Linked DNA regions of Homo sapiens: region 2 is linked to region 1. Evidence: promoter capture Hi-C in 16 types of primary human blood cells and fetal thymus (Javierre and others, 2016). All regions are on one chromosome and are shown on one strand. Each heading gives the region's core, a stretch centred on a gene start or on the middle of the fragment in contact. The rest is flanking DNA. Distances are from core to core; before and after follow the strand shown. Region 1 holds the start of CNFN (cornifelin). Region 2 has its middle 29 kb from the start of POU2F2-AS2.

Region 1 (4,820 bases), core at 1,152-3,651:
CTTGAACCCGGGAAGCGGAGGTTGCAGTGAGCATAGACTGTGCCATTGCATTCCAGCCTGGGCGACAGAGCAATACTCCGTCTCAAAAAAAACAAAAAACAAAACAAAAAAAAAAACGAAAGAAAGAAAAAAAAAGAAAAAGAAATTAAAGTCTCGGTCTGTCATCCAGGCTGGAGTGCAGTGGTGTGATCACATGTCTCACTGTAGCCTCGACCTCCTGGGCTCAAGCAATCCTCCCGCCTCGGCCTCCCGAGTAGCTGGGACTACTGGTGTGTGCCACCACCTCGGGCTAATTTTATTTTTTATTTTTATTTTTGAGACGGAATCTCGCTCTGTTGCCCAGACTGGAGTGCAGTGGCGTGATCTCGGCTCACTGCAACCTCTGTCTCCCGGGTTCAATCAATTCTCTTTCTCAGCCTCCCGAGTAGCTGAGTTTACAGGCGCCCGCCACCACGCCCGGTTTTTTTTTTTGTATTTTTAGTAGAGACGGGGTTTCACCATCTTGGCCAGACTGGTCTTGAACTCCTGACCTTGTGGTCCACCTGCCATGGCCTCCCAAAGTCCTGGGATTACAGGCGTGAGCCACTGCGCCCGACCTATTTTTTATTTTTATTTTTGTAGAGATGGGGATCTCATTATGTTGCCCAGGCTGATCTTGAATTCCTGGCCTCAAGGGATTGTCATGCCTTGGCCTCCCAAAGTGTTGGGATTACAGGCATGAGCCACTGCACTGGGCCAGGAGCTAGGGTTTGAAGAGGGAGTTGGGGGTCACAGTGAGGAAAGCTGAGCATGCAAAGGGGAGGTTGAGGGCCTGATAAGTTGAGTGTGGGAAGGCATGAGGTAGTATCCTAAGGAGTGTTGGGGGTCTGAGGAAAGGGTGACTGTTAGAGTGGGAATTCCAAGTCCAGGGAAGGGAGGTGGGAGTGGGGTTAGCAAGCGGTGGGAGGAGGTTGGAGGTGAGCTTCCCTCTCCTGATTCCCCCCAAACCCATCTTCCACCAGGCCTGGAGAGGGAGCAGGCAGGCACTCACAGACAGGCATGTCGTTGCAGCAGTCCGTGAGACCTGTGTGCCAGTCACTGAGCTGGGTCTGGTAGCAGCTGGTGGTGGCGCACTGGGGCTGACTGGTCACAGGGTAGGACATAGCTGCAGAGGTGGGAGGGTAGGGGTCAGCTGGCAGCCTCGCAGCATCTCCTGGGCCCCGCACTTCGGCCACCCTTCCCTGTGCCGGGCAGTCTGGGCGGGGCCGCCAGGCCGCCCACTGAAGGGACACCACTGTGCCTCCCCCTTCCCTTCTGCTACATCTGGGCACCGGCAACCCCAGTCTGTCCCTGTTGCTGCTGGCTCCTGCACGTCTGGTTAGGCTGGGGGTGGGGGTCTCCTGCACATCTGAGGAAGGGTGGGGACCACATCTGGGTGGGGCCTGGCGGTGCCGCCTCCTCCTCCACGTCTGGGCCTGGGTTCTGGGTTGCAGCATTTCTGGGGCCTCTGGGGTGGAAGCAGGCGCCGTCTGTCTTCGAAGCAAGGGTGCCCAGGGGAGGGAGGCGGCCAGGTTCCAGTACTGAGAGGGTTGCTGGTCCACCCAGCGGTCCCACCTTTGCCTTTCACGTTGTCGTGCATCTCAAACTGCATCTTGCTGGCCCTGAGGAGGTGGCGTTGGGGACGGCAGAAGTGGCTGTGGCAACAGTGGCAGAGTCTGTCCAAGGGACGCTGGATACTGGGGAGGTGGGGGCAAGGGACTGGGGCACTGGGGGCTGGGCTCTCAGGGGGAGGGGAGCTGGGGAGAAAGAGGCCAAGTCAGCCTGTCAACCAGGAGAGACATGGAATAGGGAATGGATAGGGCGGGGGCGAGAAACTCGCCCATGTCTTTCCAACTGCCCGACAGATTGCAGAGGACCCTCCCCATACCCGAGATAGAGCTTGAGGGAGAACAAGAAATGGAGATGGACAGAGTCAGAGACAAGGGGAGAAAGATCAGAGCCAGGTGCCCGTAGAGATGTCACCAGTAATGCCCACATGTGCCCAGCACTTTGACTCCTCTGCAAGCCCATCTCACAGATGAGCACTGAGGCTCAGAGACATGAGGAGGAACGCCCCACGTCTGACGGCCCAGGCCAAGGGGGTTCATAGAGGTGATGCTGGGCCCCAAGACTTCTAAATTCAGCTCAGCACACCCCAGTTAAGAAGGACAGATTTGGGGGCATTGGGAAGGACAGAGATGTCCCGAGAGACCGACAATCAGCGATATGAAAGGAGACAGAGTGATATGAGTGGGATGAGGAGGAGGGAGAACAGAGCAGAGGCGCCCAACCTCAAAGAAGAGGGCTGCGGAGGGGATGTTCCTACCTGCAGGATCGCGATGGCAGTGATGGAGGCAGACGTGTGGAGACACGGGCACTGACTTCTCCGTCTCAGCCCAGAGCCACTTATATGGGCGGCCACGCAGCCCTGGGCGGGGCTCTGACAGAGGTGCCCAGGGAGCCAAGCCGGTCTGATCGACCCTCTCCCCACACTGGGATTTCCCGCCCTCCCTCTCCACTCCCATCCCCCCACTTCTCCTCCTGCCTCAGCTCCCAGGACCCAGGGAAAAGAAGGTGGCGGGGGGTGGGAGGTTTGGCGGGGGCGGGGGGCCACAGCCGGGTCAATGCGCAGAGACCAAAAGAGAGGGAGAGACAGAAACACAGTGTCAGAAAGGCAGGCAGGGAAGTCCCTCTAGACAGAAAGGAGAGAGAGGAGATTCAGAGAGATGGAGAGACGCAGGAAGATGTAGAGAGATGGAGAGGTGCCAAGAAACAGAGGGGCACAAAAATGTGAAAAGAAATAACAAGAAGAGGGGAGATGGGCCAGGCATGGTGGCTCTCGCCTGTAATCCCAACCCTGTAATCGCCTGAGGTGAGAGGATCGCTTGAGCCCAGGAGTTGAAGACCAGCCTGGGCAACATAGGGATACCCCATCTCTACAAAAAATACAAATAGAATTAGCCGGGCATGGTGGCATGTGCCTGTAGTCCCAGCTACTTGAGAGGCTGAGGCAGGAGGATCGCTTGAGTCCAGAAGTTTGAGGCTGCAGTGAGCCGTGTTCCCGCCACTACACTCCGGCCTCAGTGACAGAGCAAGACCCTGTCTTAAAAAAAAAAAAGGAAAGAAAAGGGGAGATGGGAGACAGAAGAGAGACGGAGATGGAAAAGTGGAGAGGCAGGTGGGGGGATCACTGAACAGGCTTAGAGGGCAGGGAAATGGGGAGAGGTGATGGGTGGGGAGAGAAAAAGGCCGGGTGGAGTGGGAGAGAGTGCTGTGTGGGACTCCCCTTTCAGGGTCTCGCTCATCTCTCTCAGTGATATCCCCACTTTCCTGGGAGAGGGGGACAGTGTCCTCCCCATTCAAGCCAGGAGACACATGGGGGGCAGTGTGTTTTGGGGAATGACTCATGTTGGAACCAAAGTAAATAAACACACCTCACCCCAGCTCCAAATTGGGAAGGGAGGAGGCTGGGAACTGAAAAGCCGCAGTTCCTGAAGGACGTGGACGTCACCTGGGACTCCTGGGTCCTAATGGAGCAAAGGAGTGGGGGCTTGGACCCCTGGGTCTGAGGGAGGAGGGGCTGGGGCCCTGGACTCCTGCGTCTCATGAGGCCAGGCTGCACATCCCTCAGTAGGGTAGGGGTCCTGGGATTCCACACTGCTGGGCTCCTGAGCAGGGAAGGAGCTGGGGGTCTGGGTGCCTGAATCGCCAAAGTTTCCCCCCAACAGGCCTGACGGGGTTGGGAGGTGACTCAGTGAGGGAAGCAGCATTAGAGCTGGGTGGGGTTCTCAGCACGGGTGTCACCCCAAAAATGTAGGAGGCACTAGAAAACTGGGGTGTCACCTGCAGAGAAGGTGGTGTCATCACCCCGCCGGGTATGGGGTGATGGCAGGTGGATCACCCTGCTAGCTGGGATCCCAGGTGTCCCCTCCCTCCCTCCCTCCCTCCAACACATTAGGACCCAAGCCTTGGTCTCCCAGCACCACCCAGATGGTTGGGTCTTCCTGTCCCCAGAACTCCCGGCAGCGCTCACTGTCTTGCCGGTGCACGTCCGTCATTGGTCCTAGAGCCTGGATGTCTGGGGGACATCTCCTCACTTGTGTCCTAACATCCCTGTCTCCTCATCTCTGAATCTTCGTCTCTCACCCTGCATCTTCACCTTTCCAGCTGTGAATCTGTCTTTCTTTCCTCATCTCTGCAAATCTCTTTCCAAATCTCTGTCTCTCCATCTCTGGGTCCCTCTCCTTCCAGGCTCTGTGTCTCTGTGCCCTTATCCCGGGGTCTCTGTCTCCTATGTCAAAATCTCTTCTGAATCTCGCTTCCCATCTCTGTTCATCTCCAGACCTGCCCTGTGGAGGCAGCTACAGGGCCCCATCCCCCCTGCTGTCCAGACTAAGGGTGCAGGTGACTCAAGGTCAGTCATCTCCGAGGACCCCAGGGCTCCCAGCATGACACTCTGAGTTGTCCTCAAGTTTCCTCTCTCACTCCTGACACAGCCTGGGGGCCCCAATTAGATCTAGCAATTCATGCAGGTGAGGAAATAGAGACTGGGGAAGCTGTGAGGTGGCCTGCTTGGGGGTGAGGAGGGCCGTGAGCAGGAGGAGGAGCTCCTGGGGGGCTGAGGAGTGATGGTGGCCCAGTCACCAGGCATTGGCCTACATCCTCCTCAAACAGGGTTGCCACATAAAATACAGGCTGTCCTGTAAAATCTGAAATTCAGATAAGCAACAAACAGGTTTTTTAGCATGTTTCATGCAGTATTTGGGACATATTTATACTAAAAAAGTATTTGTTATTTATCT
Region 2 (4,820 bases), core at 816-3,315, 210 kb before region 1:
TACAGAGATGGTGAGAGAAAGAAAGCAAAGACAGAGACCCAGAGAGTCAAAGTGAGGCAGAGAAATGCAGAGACATGGACAGAGACTGCAAGAAAGTGACAGGAACAGAGAAACCTCAGGAGACACACAGAGAGACACAGTGAGATGGAGAAAGGCACTGGAAGAGGCTTTCAGTTGGACAGAGATCCACAGAGAGATGCGAGACAGAGACAAGAAGAGACAAATGGAGAGTCAGAAATAGAGAATGAGGTCTGGTAGACAAGGCTGGGGATGGGGGGCAGAGACAGAGCCCAGGTAAAGGAGGAAGGGACAGGCTGGGGTGAAAGCAGAAAGTAGGAAGGTGACAAGAGGGTCCAGGGAAGCACCAAGGGGGAAAGGGCAGACAGGAGGGGAGGGAAGAACAGCAGAAAGGAGAGGAGTGGGGAAGGGAGAGGAGGGGAAGAAAGAGAGGAGGGCAGTGCCCAGTCACCAAGCACCTCCCCTGTGCCAGGCACATTATGGCTTGGAGACAGGGAGGAAGGAAAGGAAGGCCAAGGGTGAAGGGGCTCCGACCAGGGGAAGGTGGGCACAGGGTCTTGGGAGGGTGCATGGCTCCCGCCCCCTGCAGGCGGGGGTGCAGTGGTGCAAAGAGGAGGATAGGGTTGCAAGTGGTACCCAGACCTGGGAGGGGGTGTGAGAGGGAGGGAACAGGAGGGGGAAGGCAGGGAGGGAAAGGGAGGAGGAGGAGGAGGACGCAGGCACGCGCTGCGCGGTCTTGGCTTAGCAGCTGCAACCGCCCTTCGCTTTGTTACCAGCAAGGCTACCCCATGCATACTGAGTGGACACGCGGGACCCTCATGTGTGTGTGAGAAACACGAGAATCACCAACTGCCCACGTGTATGGAGAACGCTCCCAAGACCTACACTGGAAGTGCGTAACATAAATAAATATAGGAAACACCTACCCCGTGGGCGTACAAAGTAAGTACCCAGGACCTGTGCAGCGTGTGCATAATAGACACAGAACTACCTACTACTCCCTGTACGGAGCAGCCTCCTGGGACCCGCACTGTGTGCGCAACACAAATAAATGCAAGGAATACTACCCTCTGTCCATACAAAGTAGGTATTTGGGTCTTATGCAGCAGATGCATAATGGACATGGGACCACTTAATACCCCCATACAGAGCAGACTCCTGGGATCCACACAGTGTGTTCACAACACAAATAAATACAGGAAACGCCCACTCCAACTGCACACAAACTAGGCACATGGGCCTACAGGGCATGAACATAGTGGACACGGAACCACCCCATAGCCACCTACCAACCAGCCTCCCTGGGACCCATACTGTGTGGGCACAACATAAATGAATGCAGGAAGTACCCTATCCCCCATGCCTACAAAGCTGGCACACCAACCTAATAGACTTAGCTAGTGTGAACATAAGAGACACCCATGAGCAGGTTCTGGTGATCCACAAAGGCACATAACAAAACTGAACATAAGAAACACCCACTCCGCTTGCATACAAAGGCACATGGGGTCCCAATAGTGAGGAGAGAACTCAAAAAAGGGTGTATATAATGACAACCCACACACTATCCATTCTGGAAGGAGCAACAAGGAATACTGGACCCTGCAATGAATCTACCCAGCAGACTCCCAGGTCCCTCCATCTGTACGTGTACAATAGACCTAGGAGGAGCTATGGACAGCCTGAGTACCTACTAGAAGGGAAGCAGGGACAGGGCAGAGACCAAGGATGTCCTGTTCCCTGCCTTGGCCCTGGCACCTACAAGGACCAGTACATGGGTGGGGTGGGGGGCGGTCATCCTTCCTAAGAATGACCAAGTACATAATAATTGTGTATACAGTGAGTATACACTAAGCACACAGCACCAATGTTTGTCTGTTTGTTTGTTTGTTTGTTTTGAGACAGGGTCTCCCTCTGTCACCCAGGCTGGAGTGCCGCAGCGTGATCATGGCTCACTGTAGCCTCAAACTCCTGGGCTCAAGCAATCCCCTCTTGCCTCAGCCTCCCAAGTAGCTGGGACTACAGGCATGCACCACCACACCCATCTATTTTTTTTTTTTTTAAGCAGAGATGAGGTCTCCATATGTTCCCCAGGCTAAAGCACCAATTTTAAGGATCCAAAAAACTTGGTTTGATATGTGCTAAGTCCATATCATATGCTTACTTGCCAGTATGTTAAGAGTCTGTGGTCCACAACCTATGCATGATTGGTATCTTAATTATCCAGAATATCCATATTAAGCAGAAGCTGACATCCCTCATGGACTTACAAAAGTCAGATCCAATAGGAGACTTAAGCAATCCGCACATGCAGGTTGTCCTAACTGATTTCTAGGGCTCCGCCCAGCCCCGAGTCATGATTCCACGAAGGCTGATGCAGCACATGTATACACACCAGGCACATGCAAAGACGTACACCATACACTGTACACAACACAGCAAAAACATGTGTGCTCTCTCTGCTTCTGAAATAGCATAATTCCAGAAGTACCAGATTCCTCTGAGGAATGTGTGTGTGTGCATGTCTGAGTGAGGGCCATCTCTGGGTACAGGTGTGCATGTACATGGCTCTTCCTGTACGAATGAGCTCAGCTCTTATTCCCTCCTCATTCTGCCTGTTCATCTTTCAGAAACATGTATACAAATAATAGTACCTGATGTATACTAAGTACAAAACATTGCAAGCTATGGATGACCTTAATTGAGTGTGTGCGTCTGAACATACATTTATTTATTTATTTATTTATTTATTTATTTAGAGACAGAGCCTTGCTTTGTCACTCAGGCTGGACTGCAGTGGCACAATCTCGGCTCTCTGCAACCTCTGCCTCCCGGGTTCAAGCTATTCTCCTGCCTCAGCCTCCCGAGTAGCTGGGATTACAGGCGCATGCCACCATGCCCAGCTAATTTTTGTATTTTTTAGTAGAGACGGGGTTTCACCATGTTGGTCAAGCTGGACTCAAACTCCTGACCTGGTGGTCCACCCACCTCGGCCTCCCAAAGTGCTGGGATTACAGGCGTGAGCCAACACTCCCGGCCTTGAACATACCTTTAGATAGATGCATTTGTTCATTAATGAAACATTTGTTCGCGCATCTGTGGCCATGTGTGTGCGTGTGTGTACATCTTGGTGTCTTGGTTACAAGTCTTGGGGCTCCCTTATAATCTCTGAGGATAAAGGGTGTAAGATAAGGGAAACGAAGGCACACAAAGCAGGAAGGGAAGAAACTGGGGAGAAGGAAAAAAGTGGTGCAAGGACAAGGAGCAAAAAGAAGAGACCTGTTATTCAGGAGGCTGAGGCACAAGAATCACTTGAACTCAGGAGGCAGAGGTTGCAGTAAGCCAAGATTGTTCCACTGCACTGCCCTGGGCGATAGAGCAAGACTCTGTCTCAAAAGAGAGAGAGAGAGAGAGAGAGAGAGAGAGAGAGAGAGACCTGGAACTGGAACTGGATGTATGGAAGGAAGGGAGGAGGCCCTGAGGACACAGGCAGAGGGAGATGTGGTGCGGGAGCAAGGAAGAGAACAAGGACAGGAGGAGAATGGGTGTGAGAGAAAAGAGGAAGCTAGGAGGAGGAAGGGAGGTGAATGGTGAGCAGAGCAGAGTGAGGGTATCAGGAAGAGTGAAGGGGACTGGGGAGAGGAGAAAGGAGATGGGAGAAGGAGATAAAGACCGAAGGGAAAGAAATAAGAAACAGACAGAGGCTTTTCTGGTCTGAATGAAATTTAGAGGTTGCCCCAGTGGCCTCCTATGGGAAGGTGTTCGAGTCGGAGGATGAAGGTGAAGCAAAAGAGAGAAAGGAAGAGGAATCACAACCTAGCTCCCTAGGATGGGGCAGCCAGCTGTCTCCATCATCCTAGAAGGGGCCCAGAGACAGGGACCCGGAGGCACAGACAGAGAGGTATGCAGAGCTGGACTGAGATGTGGAGTCATCTGAAGTGGGTAGGGTCCTGGGACAGGCAGGAGGAGGAGTGGAGAGACTTGCAGGCTCAGGGAGGCCAGGGCTCAGTGGTGTGGAGACTTCCAAAGACCAGGAGGAGGCTGGAGCAGGCAATGGAGCAGGGCCCTGAGACCACAAGCGGGGAATCGAAGACCAGGTAAAGGGAAGCAGGTTAGAGAAGGGCAGAGAAGTGAGGGCCTGCTGAGCAGAACCAGCCAAAGTAAATGGAGGAGCAGCTGGAGTGGGATGAAAAGGCCATGAGGCATCTTGCAGATGGGTCCTGCCTTATGCACACCCGGGTTCAGAAGCTCTCCCAGGCTGACTCTCCCCAAGCATTCAGTTTGGTTCCATTTAAGACATGCATACTGAATACTATCACGAATTAGCACTATGCTGTAAGCTGAAGAAACAAATGCAAATGAGACACAACTCTGCCCTCATAGAGACCCTCATCTGAAGTTGTTGGTGGGGGAGGGAATGAACAATAAATACACAGTTACTGATACACACAGCAACACAGAAGTACCTCAAAACCAAAGTGAGAGATGCAGAAGACCACACACTGTAGGATTCCATTTACATGAAATTCTAGACAGCAAAACTACTGTGACGGAAAAGCAAATGAGTGGTTGAAAAGGGCTGCAGTGGAAGGAGGGGACTGACAGCAAAGGCGCCGGAGGGAACTTTTTAGGGTAATGGAAATGTTTTGTAACATGATTGTGGTGGTGGTTACACAACTGTGTGTGTGTGTAAACTCATTAAACTGTACATTTACAACTGGTGAATTTTATTGCATGCAAATTATATCACAATAAAGCTGATTGCAAATAAATAAATAAATAATTACCAGCCAGAATATTCA

What was found. The method cuts DNA at HindIII sites, captures the fragments that hold promoters and counts their contacts. A CHiCAGO score of 5 or more calls a contact.
Region 2: a contact is called between a fragment that was not itself captured here and the fragment with the promoter of CNFN in region 1, in 2 of 17 cell types (neutrophils and erythroblasts). The highest score is 5.9, in neutrophils.

The regions. Positions count from the first base shown.
Region 1 is chr19:42,387,896-42,392,715 of GRCh38, forward strand. It overlaps CNFN (cornifelin), which reads right to left and starts at 2,402. Exons shown (of 4, transcript NM_032488.4): 1 at 2,345-2,402; 2 at 1,031-1,144. The coding sequence starts at 1,142. The HindIII fragment of the contact is 9,287 bases long and covers 1-4,820 here.
Region 2 is chr19:42,178,829-42,183,648 of GRCh38, forward strand. It overlaps a transcript of POU2F2 not described here. Among named protein-coding and RNA genes, the nearest start is that of POU2F2-AS2, 29 kb to the left of the region's middle. The HindIII fragment of the contact is 7,957 bases long and covers 1-4,820 here.